2 separate regions of the Homo sapiens genome follow, and region 1 is linked to region 2. Evidence: promoter capture Hi-C in 16 types of primary human blood cells and fetal thymus (Javierre and others, 2016). All regions are on one chromosome and are shown on one strand. Each heading gives the region's core, a stretch centred on a gene start or on the middle of the fragment in contact. The rest is flanking DNA. Distances are from core to core; before and after follow the strand shown.

Evidence for each region. The method cuts DNA at HindIII sites, captures the fragments that hold promoters and counts their contacts. A CHiCAGO score of 5 or more calls a contact.
Region 1: a fragment that was not itself captured here is called in contact with the fragment with the promoter of HMMR-AS1 in region 2 in 1 of 17 cell types (non-activated CD4 T cells); the score reaches 6.6 in non-activated CD4 T cells.

Annotation. Positions count from the first base shown.
Region 1 is chr5:160,070,218-160,076,632 of GRCh38, reverse strand. It overlaps a transcript of PWWP2A not described here. Among named protein-coding and RNA genes, the nearest start is that of PWWP2A, 46 kb to the left of the region's middle. RefSeq lists a silencer at 4,864-5,064. The HindIII fragment of the contact is 4,000 bases long and covers 588-4,587 here.
Region 2 is chr5:163,492,657-163,499,397 of GRCh38, reverse strand. It overlaps HMMR-AS1 (HMMR antisense RNA 1), which reads left to right and starts at 5,340. Exons shown (of 4, transcript NR_109892.1): 1 at 5,340-5,699; 2 at 5,849-5,955. The HindIII fragment of the contact is 5,178 bases long and covers 3,437-6,741 here.

The DNA.
Region 1 (6,415 bases), core at 1,338-3,837, 3.4 Mb after region 2:
CTAATGAGCTTAATGCAAATTCTAATTATACTGCAAATAATTTAAAGTTTTGATTGCATTCTACAATTGTCTGTTTGGAAAATTACATATTATGAAGTCATTATATATTTTATCAAATCAGAAAAAGTCAGCTCAGGAACTGTAGCAGCAGGGAGTTCTAAAGATGACATGAACTATACTATAGGGGTGCCCTACTCTATATGGCCTAGGGCTTTGGTTTGGGTCAGTCTTGTTCTTTCAGATACATAACACCAGCAGTACTTTCGGGCTCACTTCAAGAACCAGATAACTCTCCCAAACCATGATACATGAAGTGTATAATCAAGATTTTTAATTAAGCTTTAGAATTCTTTATTTGTGTAGAGTGATGGAAATGACCAAGAAGTAATAATATAAAGCAAAAGAATTGGGAGAGATCAGGTTTTAAGTATATAAATATTTTTTTTTTCTCATGGCATATTCTCAAAGGTGTTTTGTTACAAACCAGATTTTCATTTTTTAAAAAATGAGACTTGGTGGTATTTAAAACCTACACCTACCATGTTGCTATTTCACTTTCATTGCTTTAGTTGCTTAATATTTAAGCTTTGCTTCATGCTACCTTTTGTCTGTATTTCAATCTTCATAAGCCTATTTTGTTTTGTAGACTTGAATGATAAAAATTGTTTCTCATCTTAAGTATGCTCAGAGTTTTAAATGTTAAAGAATGTTGTGTAACCTTTATCCAATAAAGTCTTTGATTTTTTAAAAATTTAGTTATTTAAAAATTATGTTTACTTTTTAGGAGTTAGTTTTTAAAGATTTTTTTTTTTTTTTTTTTTTTTTTTACTATTAGAATTCAATCACTAGTTGTACTTTAGGGAGCTGTTTTCAGTAGCAATGCTTCCTAAGGAGAACAGCCTGTAGGTTTCTAATCACTAGGAGATTTTATGGGACCTCTTTATGACGAAGGATGGAGGAAGGGTGAACAGTTTAATTAGGACCCTGTGCACAAACATAACAGCTTTTCGATAGAAACAACCTACCCTTCAGAATTGGATGTAATTAAATATCTGCTGCTGGGTTTGTCTTGTTTTCTTTTGTTTTAATTTTAAGGAATCCTGCCCTTATGGATAAATGGTTGCTTCTTTAAGAGCCCAGCACATTGAGTGAGAGGTCAAGGGTTTGACCTAAGAATCAGAAACACTTGGTTATCAGGAAAAAATTAGCCTTTTAAAACCTACAGACAGTTCACAGGACTGACCCAGAAACTTAGGTCAATGTACTTTTTTTTTCTGTTCAAGAAAAGCAATCCTTTGGCTGCCTGTTATTCCAGAGTACATGAAGGCTTTAATCTCAAACATTCTCCCATTTCAGTTTATTTAAATGAGTGTAAAAAAGAGACCACAGGAATCTGGCTCTGCTAATATCTTTTTTCTCTCAAATTTCTCACTAATGAAAATGGAACAGGGAGAACCAGGGAAGATTAACAAGCCATGTGCTCATTATCTGAGAGGGCCTACAGGAGACTCATACTGATCCTGGTCATGTATACATGTATCAGTATATTTATAGACACAACTCCTACAAGATGGAGGGAATGAATGATGGAACCAATAGAAGCAACTGAAAATCTTACCAATGCTGGCCTTCACATAAGAAAGCGTAAGTTCATTTTTCCTTTTTCAAGTAAAGATTTTTTTTTTTTAATTTAAATAATAGAGACAAGGTCTCGCTTTGTTGTCCAGGCTGGTCTCAAACTCCTGGGCTCAAGTGATCCTCCTGCCTCGGCCTCCCAAAGTGCTGGGATTATAGGCATGAGCCACTGCACCTGGCCATGATTCTTTTATCAGAATAAGAAATTATTTGAATAAAGAGGTTTTTTTTGTTTTTTTTTTTGTTTTTTTGAGACGGAGTCTTGCTCTTGTTGCCCAGGCTGGAGTGCAATGGCACGATCTTGGCTCACTGCAACCTCCGCCTCCCGGGTTCAAGCAATTCTCCTGCCTCAGCCTCCCAAGTAGCTGAGTTTACAGGCATGCGCCACCACCCCTGGCTAATTCTGTATTTTTAGTAGAGATGAGGTTTCTCCCTGTTGGTCAGGCTGGTCTCAAACTCCCGATCTCAGGTGATCCGCCTGCCTCGGCTTCGCAAAGTGCTGGGATTACAGCGTGAACAACTGTGCCTGGACTTTATTTATTTATTTATTTATTTTTTTGAGACAGATTTTCGCTCTTGTTGCCCAGGCTGGAGTGCAGTGGTGCGATCTCGGCTCACTGCAACCTCCACCTCCTGGGATCAAGCGATTCTCCTGCCTCAGCCTCCCGAATAGCTGGGATTACAGGCATGTGCCACAACTCCCAGCTAATTTTGTATTTTTAGTAGAGACAGGGTTTCTCCATGTTGGTCAGGCTGGTCTCGAACTCCTGATCTGAGGTGATCCACCTGCCTCAGCCTCCCAAAGTGCTGAGATTACAGGTGTGAGCCACTGCCTGGCCAGAATATGTTATTTTTTAAGCATCCTTTTCTCTAGTGATTAGCATGCTGCCAAATCTTTGCTTAATCGGAATGAAATTTTTTTTTTTTTTTTTTGAAACGGAGTCTCACTCTGTCACCCAGGCTGGAGTGCAGTGGCACGATCTCGGCTCACTGCAACCTCTGCCCCCTGGGTTCAAGAGATTCTCCTTCCTCAGCCTCCTGAGTAGTTGGGATTACAGGTGCTTACCCCCATGCCCGGCTAATTTTTGTATTTTTAGTAGGGAAGGGGTTTCGCCATGTTGGCCAGGCTGGTCTTGAACTCCCAACCTCAAGTGATCCACCCGCTTTGACCTCCCAAAGTGCTGGGATTACAGGTGTGAGCCACCGCACCCGGCTTGGAATGAAATTTCATGGCCTTAACAATTCCTTTGCTTTGGTACCAACAAGGTAGTGAGCTTGGGGTAAAGGAGAGTATGATTCAGGAAAACTGTGCCAGAAGAAGAGAGAGCTGGCCAAACAGTGGGAAGACATTGTCTTTAAGCGTTAAGAGTACTTTCAGGGTTAGCCCTTTCATTATTTCCTTGTGAGGCAAGTTTGTAGAAGCAGCTGTCTAAAGGAGGGAAAGTGGCTTGGTGATGTTAAAGATGTTTTTGGCCGGGCATGGTGGCTCACGCCTGTAATCCCAGTACTTTGGGAGGTCGAGGAGGGTGGATCATGAGGTCAGGAGATCGAGACCATCCTGGCTAACACGGTGAAACTCTGTCTCTACTAAAAATACAAAAATTAGCCGGGCGTGGTGGTGGGTACCTCTAGTCCCAGCTACTCGGGAGGCTGAGGCAGGAGGATGGCGTGAACCCGGGAGGCAGAGCTTGCAGTGAGCTGAGATCGCGCCACTGTACTCCAGCCTGGGCAACAAAGTGAGACTCCGTCTCAAGAAAAAAAAAAAAAAGAAATGTTTTTATACTAATAACCTGCCTTAGTCTAAAGAGGTAGGAGACATGGATTCTGTTATCAGTTCTATCAATGACCTTTGACAGCAAAGTCACACAGCAGCCTTATTGGCAAAATGAGGTGTAGAAATCCATCTCACCAAGCTCTTCAGTTCCTACTCAGCCAAGGCCGAAACCCCTGGGGAGATGTTAGGATTTTTTTTTTTTTTTTTTTTTTTTTTTTTGAGACGGAGCCTCGCTCTTGTTGCCCAGGCTGGAGTGTAATGGTGCAATCTCGGCACACTGCAACTTCCGCCTCCCAGGTTCAAGTGATTCTCCCACCTCAGCCTCCCGAGTAGCTGGGATTACAGGCACCTGCCATCATGCCTGGCTAATTTTTGATTTACTTATTCATTTATTTATTTTTGAGACGGAGTCTCACTCTGTTACCCAGGCTGGAATGCAGGCACCTGCCATCACACCTGGCTAATTTTTGTTTTATTATTTATTTATTTATTTATGAGACGGAGTCTCGCTCTGTTGCCCAGGCTGGAGTGCAGTGGTGCAGCCATGGCTCACTGCAGCCTCAACCTTGTGGTTCAAGTGGTCTTCCTGCCTCAGCCTCCTGAGTAGCTGGGACTACAGGTGTGCACTACCACCCCGAGCTAACAAAAAAAGTATTTATTTTGTAGCGACGGGGTTTCTCTGTTATCCAGGTAGTTCTAAACTCCTGGGCGAAAGCAATCCTCCCACCTCGCCCCCCGCAGGTGCTGGGATTACAGGCCTGAGCCACTGTGCCCAGCTCATAAACTGCCCCTTGAAGGGTTGTAAGCAGTCATTCTCATGCGCTAACGTTATTTTCACCCTACCTCTTGAACTGGCTGGTAGCAAGTAATCCATTTTTTTTAATTGACTTTTTTTCAGAGTCCATGCTAATCTTCTATCATTCCAATTTTAGTATATGTGCTGCTGAAGCAAGCACAGTAATCAATTTTTCATTTTCAGAAGCATTAATGGATCTGGTTTAGTGTGAGGTCAGGATAGCTCTGCACACAACAGGAGGAAGTGATTGCAAATTATAGCTTCCTTTCCCTGTACAGCTTTTAATTGTGCAGTTCACTGAAGGAACAGATTTTTCAGCCACTTCTGGTGGAATGCGCACATACTTTTTTAAAGGAAATCCAGGTGATGGAAGGATTAAGCTTGTTACTATCAAGTACCGAGGAAGCAGGCTGGCAAGAATCCTAACTGAAATCACTTCAAGGAGATTTGACTAAGATTGTATGGGTATGTATCAAGTACAGAGTATCCACAGATAAGATCAGAGGAAGAGTTTCTCTTCCCTATCCTCATCCCTCCTGTATTTTTTAAGGGGAGGGACGAGCATATGGAGGAAACCGGCACAGTAATGAAGGGAAGTGATCACAGAAAACAACAGGAAGGAACATACAATCCAGCTGGCAGCGACCATCAGCTGCAGGCTCATAAGGCTGCATCTGAATGGGGGCTGCGCAGCTGAGAGCCAACAGCTCCAGCCTTTCCTCTTAAGCCAAGGGCAATCTGGAGAGAGCACAGATAACAAGCAGAGGAAACGGATGAGGGCTCGTCAAGATATTTCCCATCCTACGTGGTGTCTCAGATTTGCGCTTTGGTCTTGGGGGATTATTGGACTCTTCCTCTTAAAGATCTTTCCCAAGATTAAAGCAACCATTCACTTGCACAACTGTCTTAATCATAGCCTTTCCCTTTGACATCCCAAGTTCTGCAGAACTGGTGGTAAAAGGATTTGCAGGCCTGCTTAGTTCTTGGGATCAGACCATGCTTGCAAAGATGTATCTTCCAACAGGTTTACATCTGCCGCCTGCCGCCAGCTTCTCATCCCACTATCTATTCAGGCAGTAAAATGCCTCTAAAAAGCTCCTGCGCCGGGTCTTCCTGCACCAACTTAGATTCTAGCTTGAAAGTTGAGTGAAATGTTACTTACCAGTAGTCTCAGAGGCCAGCTCAGAGACTAAAAAGGAGCACCAGAAATAACTACTAAGCCCGGCAACATCTCTTTTTCTTTTTGAGACAGGGTCTCATTCCCAGGCTGGAATGCAGTGGTGCCATCTTGGCTCACTGCAGCCTTGACTTCCTGGGCTCTGGTGATCCTCCCACCTCAGCCTCCTAAGTAGCTGGGACTACAGGTGTGTACCACCATGCCTGGCTAACTTTTTGTATTTTTACTAAAGATAGGGTTTCGCCATGTTGCCCAGGCTGGTCTCAAACTCCTGGGCTAAAGCTATTTGCCCGCGTTGGCCTCCCAAAGTGCTGGGATTACAGGCGTGAGCCACGGCGCCTGGCCAGCAACATTTCTTAAAGCACTCCCCTACTTTCAGTTACATAAAACGTCGTAGGAACTGCAACTCTCAGCATTTATGGATTACACAAACATTCATGTCTTTGGCTATATCCAAGCAGCTCTGAAGGACAGCGTATGAGGTCTTGTCATTTTGCCGAAGCTCAGATGTATGTCCAGTGCCACCATGTCCCTAAAGTTATAGGGACATCTATAACATGTAGGCTTAGTGACTCCCCAGCCTCCACATTTAGACATGGTATAACACTGTCTCCTTAAGTACAGTTATTTGTAAAGTGAGATGATGTGTGTTTTGCAGGGAATGGGACAAGGAGCAAAAGGCTAAAAAACAACCACAACAAACTGGCTGCAGTGCTTGTGATGGAAGGGAAGCACACATGGAAAAGCATAGTTTTTTGTTTTTTGTTTTTTTCTTTCAGAGACAGGGTCTCTCACTGTTACCCAGGCTGGAGTGTGGTGGCTCGGTCATAGCTCACTGCAGCCTCAAACTCCTGGGCTCAAGTGATCCTCCTGCCTCAGCCTCCCAACTAGCTGGGGCTGAAAGCATGTGCCACCATGCCTTGCTTGGTTTTAAAACATTTTTTGGTAGAGATGGGGTCTTAGTATGTTGACTAGGCTAAGGTCTTGAACTCCTGGTTTCAAGTGATCCTCCTGCCTCTGCCTCCCAAAGTGT
Region 2 (6,741 bases), core at 4,091-6,590:
CAAGAAAATGAAAATTAAACTTGACAATATTTTAAATTAACAGATTGAAAAATATTTAAAGACTAAAGCTTTTTATTAAAAATTAATATTTTTTGTCTGCTTTGTTAACTATGGTATTTATTTGTCAAGATTGGCTAGTTTTACACTAAGGTAACAAATCCAAGATCACCGTGCTTAACCTTGGAAAGTTTTTACTTCCCACTCAGGCTATACATCAGAGAAGTCAGCCAGATCTCTGCATCACAGTTTCCCAGAGAGCAGGTCCAAGGAGCTTCCTCCCTTCAGTGGTTTCAAAAATATATGATAAGAGAACATTCCAGGCAGATGAATCAAGTGCACAGAAGATAGGCCTACTCAGCCTGATGTGCTCAAGCATCTGCAAGGAGTCCAGTGTGGCTAAAAAGAATAAAATAGGGAAAGCTGGGCCAGGTGGCTCACACCTGTAATCCCAACACTTTGGGAGGCTGAGGCATGTAGATTGCTTGAGCCCAGGAGTTTGAGACCAGCCTGGGCAACATGATGAAACCCCATCTTCATAAAAAAAAAAAATGCAAAAGAATTAGCCGAGCATAGTGGCACATAGCTGTAGTCCCAGCTGCTTGGGAGGCTGAAGTGGGAGGATCACTTGAGCTTGGGAGGTTGAGGCTGCAGTGAGCCAGGAAGTGTACCACTGCACTTCGGTCTGGGTGACAGAGCAAGACCCTGTCTCAAATAAATAAATAAATAAATAAAAGGAGAAGGAGAAGGAGAAGGAAAAAAGCCAGAGAGGGAAGCGAGTGGAAGTGTGAGATTGTAGATCTGTTAGGACCATTAGGGCCACTGGAAAGACTTACTTCGGCTTTCACTTTTGGCATATCCAGACATCTGCTTGCACTACCACAGACTGAATAATCCTTTAAAGACAGTTCAGGTTATTTTACTACTTGCTTACAACCTTTCAGTAACTTCCCATCTACAAGGCCCTGCAGGATCTGTGCCGCATCTTTGACTCTACCTTCCTTGTCTGCCTTTCTCCTCAAATAGTATACACCCCAATCTTATTTAGACCCTCATGTTTTCCTCTCTCACAGTATCCTATACCTTTATTTTTTTACCATTAAAAAAGTGTGTGTGACCATTATTTACTTCACATCTATCACCTTTCACTTAAAAACGCAAGGGGCAAAGTCTTGTTCTCCTCTGTGTATCAGCACCAAATTCAGTCCCTGGCACTGGATGAATATTTTATAAATATTTTTGAATATGTAAATGAATGAATAAATGAAATGCAGTATAATCAAAATCAAAAGCATGACTTATAAGTGAATCTATTTTATCCTCAGACCACTAAATTCTTAAGTGTGTAAATACATGAAGATAATACTTTTTAAAATTGTTTCTCCCAGAAAAGAGAATTGATTTTAAACAATTCAAATCAGTGGGCTATGTGTATATAATTATTCACTTGTTAAAGATAATTAGTTTGGCTTTCACCGTTTTTCTTGAAAACTACAAAGTCCTAATGGATGAAGAGACAATAGGTTGGAAAATGGATGAATGTTACTGTGGCTAGAGATGAAGAGACAAGGTATTGACCCCACCCTCTTTGTTGTAACAGTTTCTGGAAAATCTATTTGTTGAAATTTGCTTTGTGATGGGAGCTTAGATGACTCCTAATTTAAAGGACTAATGAATAAGCTAGTGTTGGAGTCTCAAGTAAAACCTTCATAAGGATAGATGTCTTGGGGTCCAGCTTCACCCACAAATAGGTTCTGGGGCCTAGTTTCGTATTTTCACCACCTCTGTCATCCTTCTCACCCTGTTTTAGGGGGTGTTCACATAGAAGTCATGAACAGTAGCAAGAAGAGGATCTGAAAGAATGATACTGAGGAAGGAGGCAGGGCATCCTGACCTCTGTCCTCTCTTGTCAACAGTGTGAAACACGAACAAGTATTCAAGGTTAAAATTTATTGTAGATCAATAGGGCATGAGTTAGACTAGACAGGGTGTTCAGTTCCCAAACCCAGTGTGATGTTTAATTGTTATGTTTAATTTTATACATCAACTTGACTAGATCATAGGTTGACCGTGGGCACTACTTCAGGGGCTGTCTGTGAGGGTATTTCTGAATGAGGTTAATATTTGAATTAGTGGATGCACTAAAGCTGATTGAGGGTCCATTGAAGGCTGAGTAGAACAAAAAACAAAGGAAGGGAGAATTAATCCCTTCTTCCTGACCCCAGTCTTTTGCTGACTTTGGACTGAGACTTATACCTTCTGCTATGATGGTTCTCAGGCTTTCAAGCTTGTACTGAACAACACCTGCTTTCCTGGGTCTCCAGCCTGCAAATGGCAGGTTGCAAGCCTTCTCAGCCTTCATAATCATGTCAGCCAATTCCTCATAGTAAATCAACTTTTCTATGTATCTCTTACTGGTTCTGTTTCTCTGGAGAACTGTGACTAATACAGATTTTGGTACCAAGAGTTGTTCTAGAGGGACAGAATGTTAAGGATGAGTTTCCTGATGGTTCCAGGGTTCTTGGGATTGGTACTCTGATCTTATTAAACGTGTTAATGATTCTTTCCAGTTAGTAAAGTGAGCACTGAGTGCATAGCATGATCTGGCAATAGAAATACACAAAATAATTGCATTGGCCACTTCTAATCAGCCAGTTATAAGAGGCAAGGAGCTGGCTAACTGTGTATATGATATTTTTTTTTGATTTTTGGAAAACTAATTGTTGATGGCTGTTATGAAACCTTTGTTCTTGTCTTCTTAGTCTAAAAGAACTTAAGAGACACAGAGTGGAGAAGTTGCAGCATTAAACAATTCATTGCAAAGGAAAAAGAATATTTTGAAAGTTAAGTGCACAATAGATAGTACATCCTTAGAGAGAGGATTCAGTACAGGCTGCTGGTAAGGATGAGATCATAAAGACTGGCACTAGGGAGACTCCCTTTCTGGGAGTCTTACATGATTAATCATAAGGGGGTGGGAAGAGGTGTTACTAGTAAGCATGTTCTGGGTGGTCCTCTGGGTGCACAAGAGCAGTAGCTGTACATGCTTGTTCATATATCGCATGTCTCATTAGCATCTTAAATCTCCACCCAGCAGTGGGTTTTTTACTATTATAATGAACAAAGGGTCAGGCTGAGGATAGGTAAAATCAAAATGTATATGCTATATACAGGGAAATTTCCTACTGAAGATAGCTTTGCTTGAATTAGCTTGACTACAATGTGAATGCTGGGGCTTATTTTGTTAAAGTATGTGGTGCAGTAAGCCACAGTTGCTGCATACCAAGGGCATGTTTACTTCCTTGACTACCTATTCTGCCTCATAATGAGTATAATGAGGACAGTTGGTTGTTTCTAATGTCACTGGATAAAGTGGTGCAAAAGTGAGTGTAGGGATTTTTATTCCCAGCTCAAGTGCTCCATAAATAATCTGAAAGCTTCTATGTGCACCCTGAAGAAAACCCTATCTCCTGTAGCCCCAGAGCTGAGACTGTTGAAAATCAAACACAGCATCTCATCCTGTGACTGGCTGAATTACAACACAAATTAGAATTCCAGCCTTGCAGAGTGACTATTGTCAAAAGGAGGGCACTTACTGAAAAAAAAATGGGATTCTGTAAATTAGGATTGGGACATATGGGAAGACCTTGATGAAGCTGGGGACATTAAGCCCCTAAATTCTGATGAGTCTTCTTTGCTAGTGGAGAGGCTTCTCAACCCCATTGGAAGCAGCTTCTCCATTTCCAGTGATAGTACCCTCCAACCTGTCTGTGATGATTAACACTGCATTGCCTGAGGAAATTGTAATGGCCTCCTTTGAGGCAGTTGATATGCAAGACAATGTTGGTTCTCCTCCAGACCCAACTCCACCACCCTTCTTTGCTTCTAGACCTGAAACTAGACAGGAACAAAGTGTTACCTATGAAGAGATGTGCTATACTCCAAAGAGTTACTCAAAGTCTCTAATTTATACAGACAAAAATCTGGGAACATATGTCGGAATGGATAATAAAGGTGTTGGAAAATGATGGAAGGAACATAAAGTTGGATCAGGTCAAATTTATTGACATGGGCTCACTAAGCCAAGATTCTGCATTTAACATTGCAGCTTGGGGAGTTAGAAAGGGTGCTCACAGTTTGATTGGCTTACTAAAACATGGAAAAGATGAATTGGAAGTGCTGGACATGCCTTGGTTTAATCTAGAGGATGGGATTAAAAGGTTTAGGAATATTGGGAAATTAGATTTTTCACTTAAGAACTACTCATCTCGGGTGGATCATGAGGTCAGGAGATCGAGACCATCCTGGCTAACAAGGTGAAACCCCGTCTCTACTAAAAATACAAAAAATTAGCCGGGCGCGGTGGCGGGCGCCTGTAGTCCCAGCTACTCGGGAGGCTGAGGCAGGAGAATGGCGTGAACCCGGGAAGCGGAGCTTGCAGTGAGCAGAGATTGCGCCACTGCAGTCCGCAGTCCGGCCTGGGCGACAGAGCGAGACTCCGTCTCAAAAAAAAAAAAAAAAAAAGAACTACTCATCCACACTGGGAAGGTCAAGAAAGCATACCTTTCACCAATACTATGAGAAAGAAATTTGCGAGGAGAGCTCCAGCATCTTTTTCAGAACTCTGTGATGGCTCTTCTCTGTAGGCCAGAGCTCACTGCAGTCACTGAACTGGAAAACCTAAATATAATGGAAGTAAAGGATCCCAGGGTGGCAAGGGTCAAGTAATGGGACTCAACCACCAAAGGCAAGGTGAAGTGGTTATCATAATGACAGAGCCAAAGGAACAATTAGAATAATCTCACTTGTAGACCTATGCTTTGGCTAGTTGATCATGGTTTTCCTAGACGTGAAATAGATAGGAAGCCTACTGAAGTCTTAACTTGATCTGTATAAGCAGAAAACTTCTAAGTCAAGTGACGAAAGTTGAACTCGAATCATAAAAACAGAATCGTGGTCCCTTAATTCCCAAACTTGAGCCACTTTATAGAGCCCAAAACCCTTTGATTGAAGGGGAGGACCTCAAAGGGACCCTGGTCCATAACCAAATGTTTATACTGTTAGTCTTTCTCCTAGTCCTCCGCAAAGGGATGTACAACCTTTACCAACGTAACTGTGCATTAGAAAAAGGGAATAATCAGATCTTTTGTGAACTAGTGGACACTGGCTCTCTGAAGTGACACTAATTTCAGGAGATCCAAAGTGCTACTGTCAGGGTAGCAGCTTATGGAGGTCAGGTGATCAGCAGAGTTTTAGCTTAGTTCCATCTCACAATGGGCCCAGTGAATTCCTGAACCTATCCTGTGGTTATCCCCTAGTTCTAGAATGTATAATTAGAATACAGTCAGCAGCTGACAGAATAATCCACACATTGGTTTCCTTACCTATGGAGTGAGGGCTATTATGGTGGAAAAGGCCAAGTAGAAGCCACTAGAACTATCTGTACTTAGGAAAATAGTAAACCAAAAGCAATGCTCAATTCCTATAGGGACTGAAGAGATTAGTGCCACCATAAGTACTTGAAGGAAGGCGGGGTGGTGATTCCTACCATATGTCCATTCAACTCGCCTATTTAGCCTGGGCAGAAGACAGATGGATTATCACAAACTTAACTAGGTGGTGACTCCAATTGCAGCTACAGTACCAGATGTATTGCTTGAGCAAATTAACACAACTCCTGGTTCCTGGTATGCAGCTACCTGGTATGATCTGGCAAATGCCTTTCTCTCCATCCCTGTCTATAAGGCCGACCAGAAGCAGTTTGCTTTTAGCTAGCAAGGCTAGAAATGCACCTTCATGTCCTACCTCAGGGCATATCAACTCACCAGCCCTGTCCTAATTTTGTTCACAGGAATCTTGATTGCCTTTTCTTTCCACATCACATTGGTCCATTACATTGACGACATTATGCTCACTGGACCTAATGAGTGAGACATAGCAACTACTCCAGACCTATTGGTAAGACATTTGCATGTCAGAAGTGGGAAGTAAATCCAACAAAAATTCAAAGGCTTTTTCATGTCTCAGTAAAATTTCTAGGGGTCCAGTGGTATGAGGCATGTTGAGATACCCCTTCTAAGGTAAGTTTTTGCATCTGCCCCCTCCTACAACCAGAAGAGGCATGACATGCGGCAGGCCTCTTTGGATTTTGAAGACGTTTCCTCATTTGAGTTTGTTACTCTGGCCCATTTACTGAGTGACTTGAAAAGCTGCTAGTTTGGAGTAGGACTCAGAATAGGAAAGGTTCTGCAATAGGTCCAGGCTATTGTGTAAGCGGCTTTGTTGCTTGGGACATATGAACTTGCAGATCCAGTGGTATTTGAAGTGTCAGTGGCAGATAGAGATGCTGTTGGAACCTTTGGCAGGCCCACATAGATGAATCTCAGTGCAGACCCTTAGTATTTTGAAGAAAGACCTGTTATCCTATGCAGATAACTACTCTTTTGAGAAACAGCTCTGGGCCTACTGCTGGGCTTCAGTAGGGACTGAATGCTTACCGTGGTCAATTAAGTTACCATGCGACCTGAGCTGCCCATCATGAGCTGGGTGTTATCTGACCCACAAGCCATAATGCTGGGTGTGGACAGCAGGAGTACATCATCAAAGAACGTGTTATGTATGTGACTGGGCCCAGGCAGGACCTGAAGGCAAAAGCAAGTTACATGAAGAAGTGACCCAAATGCCCATGGTCCCTGTTCCTGCTACCTTGCCTTTTTTCTCCCAAGCTCATGGAGAGTTCCCTAT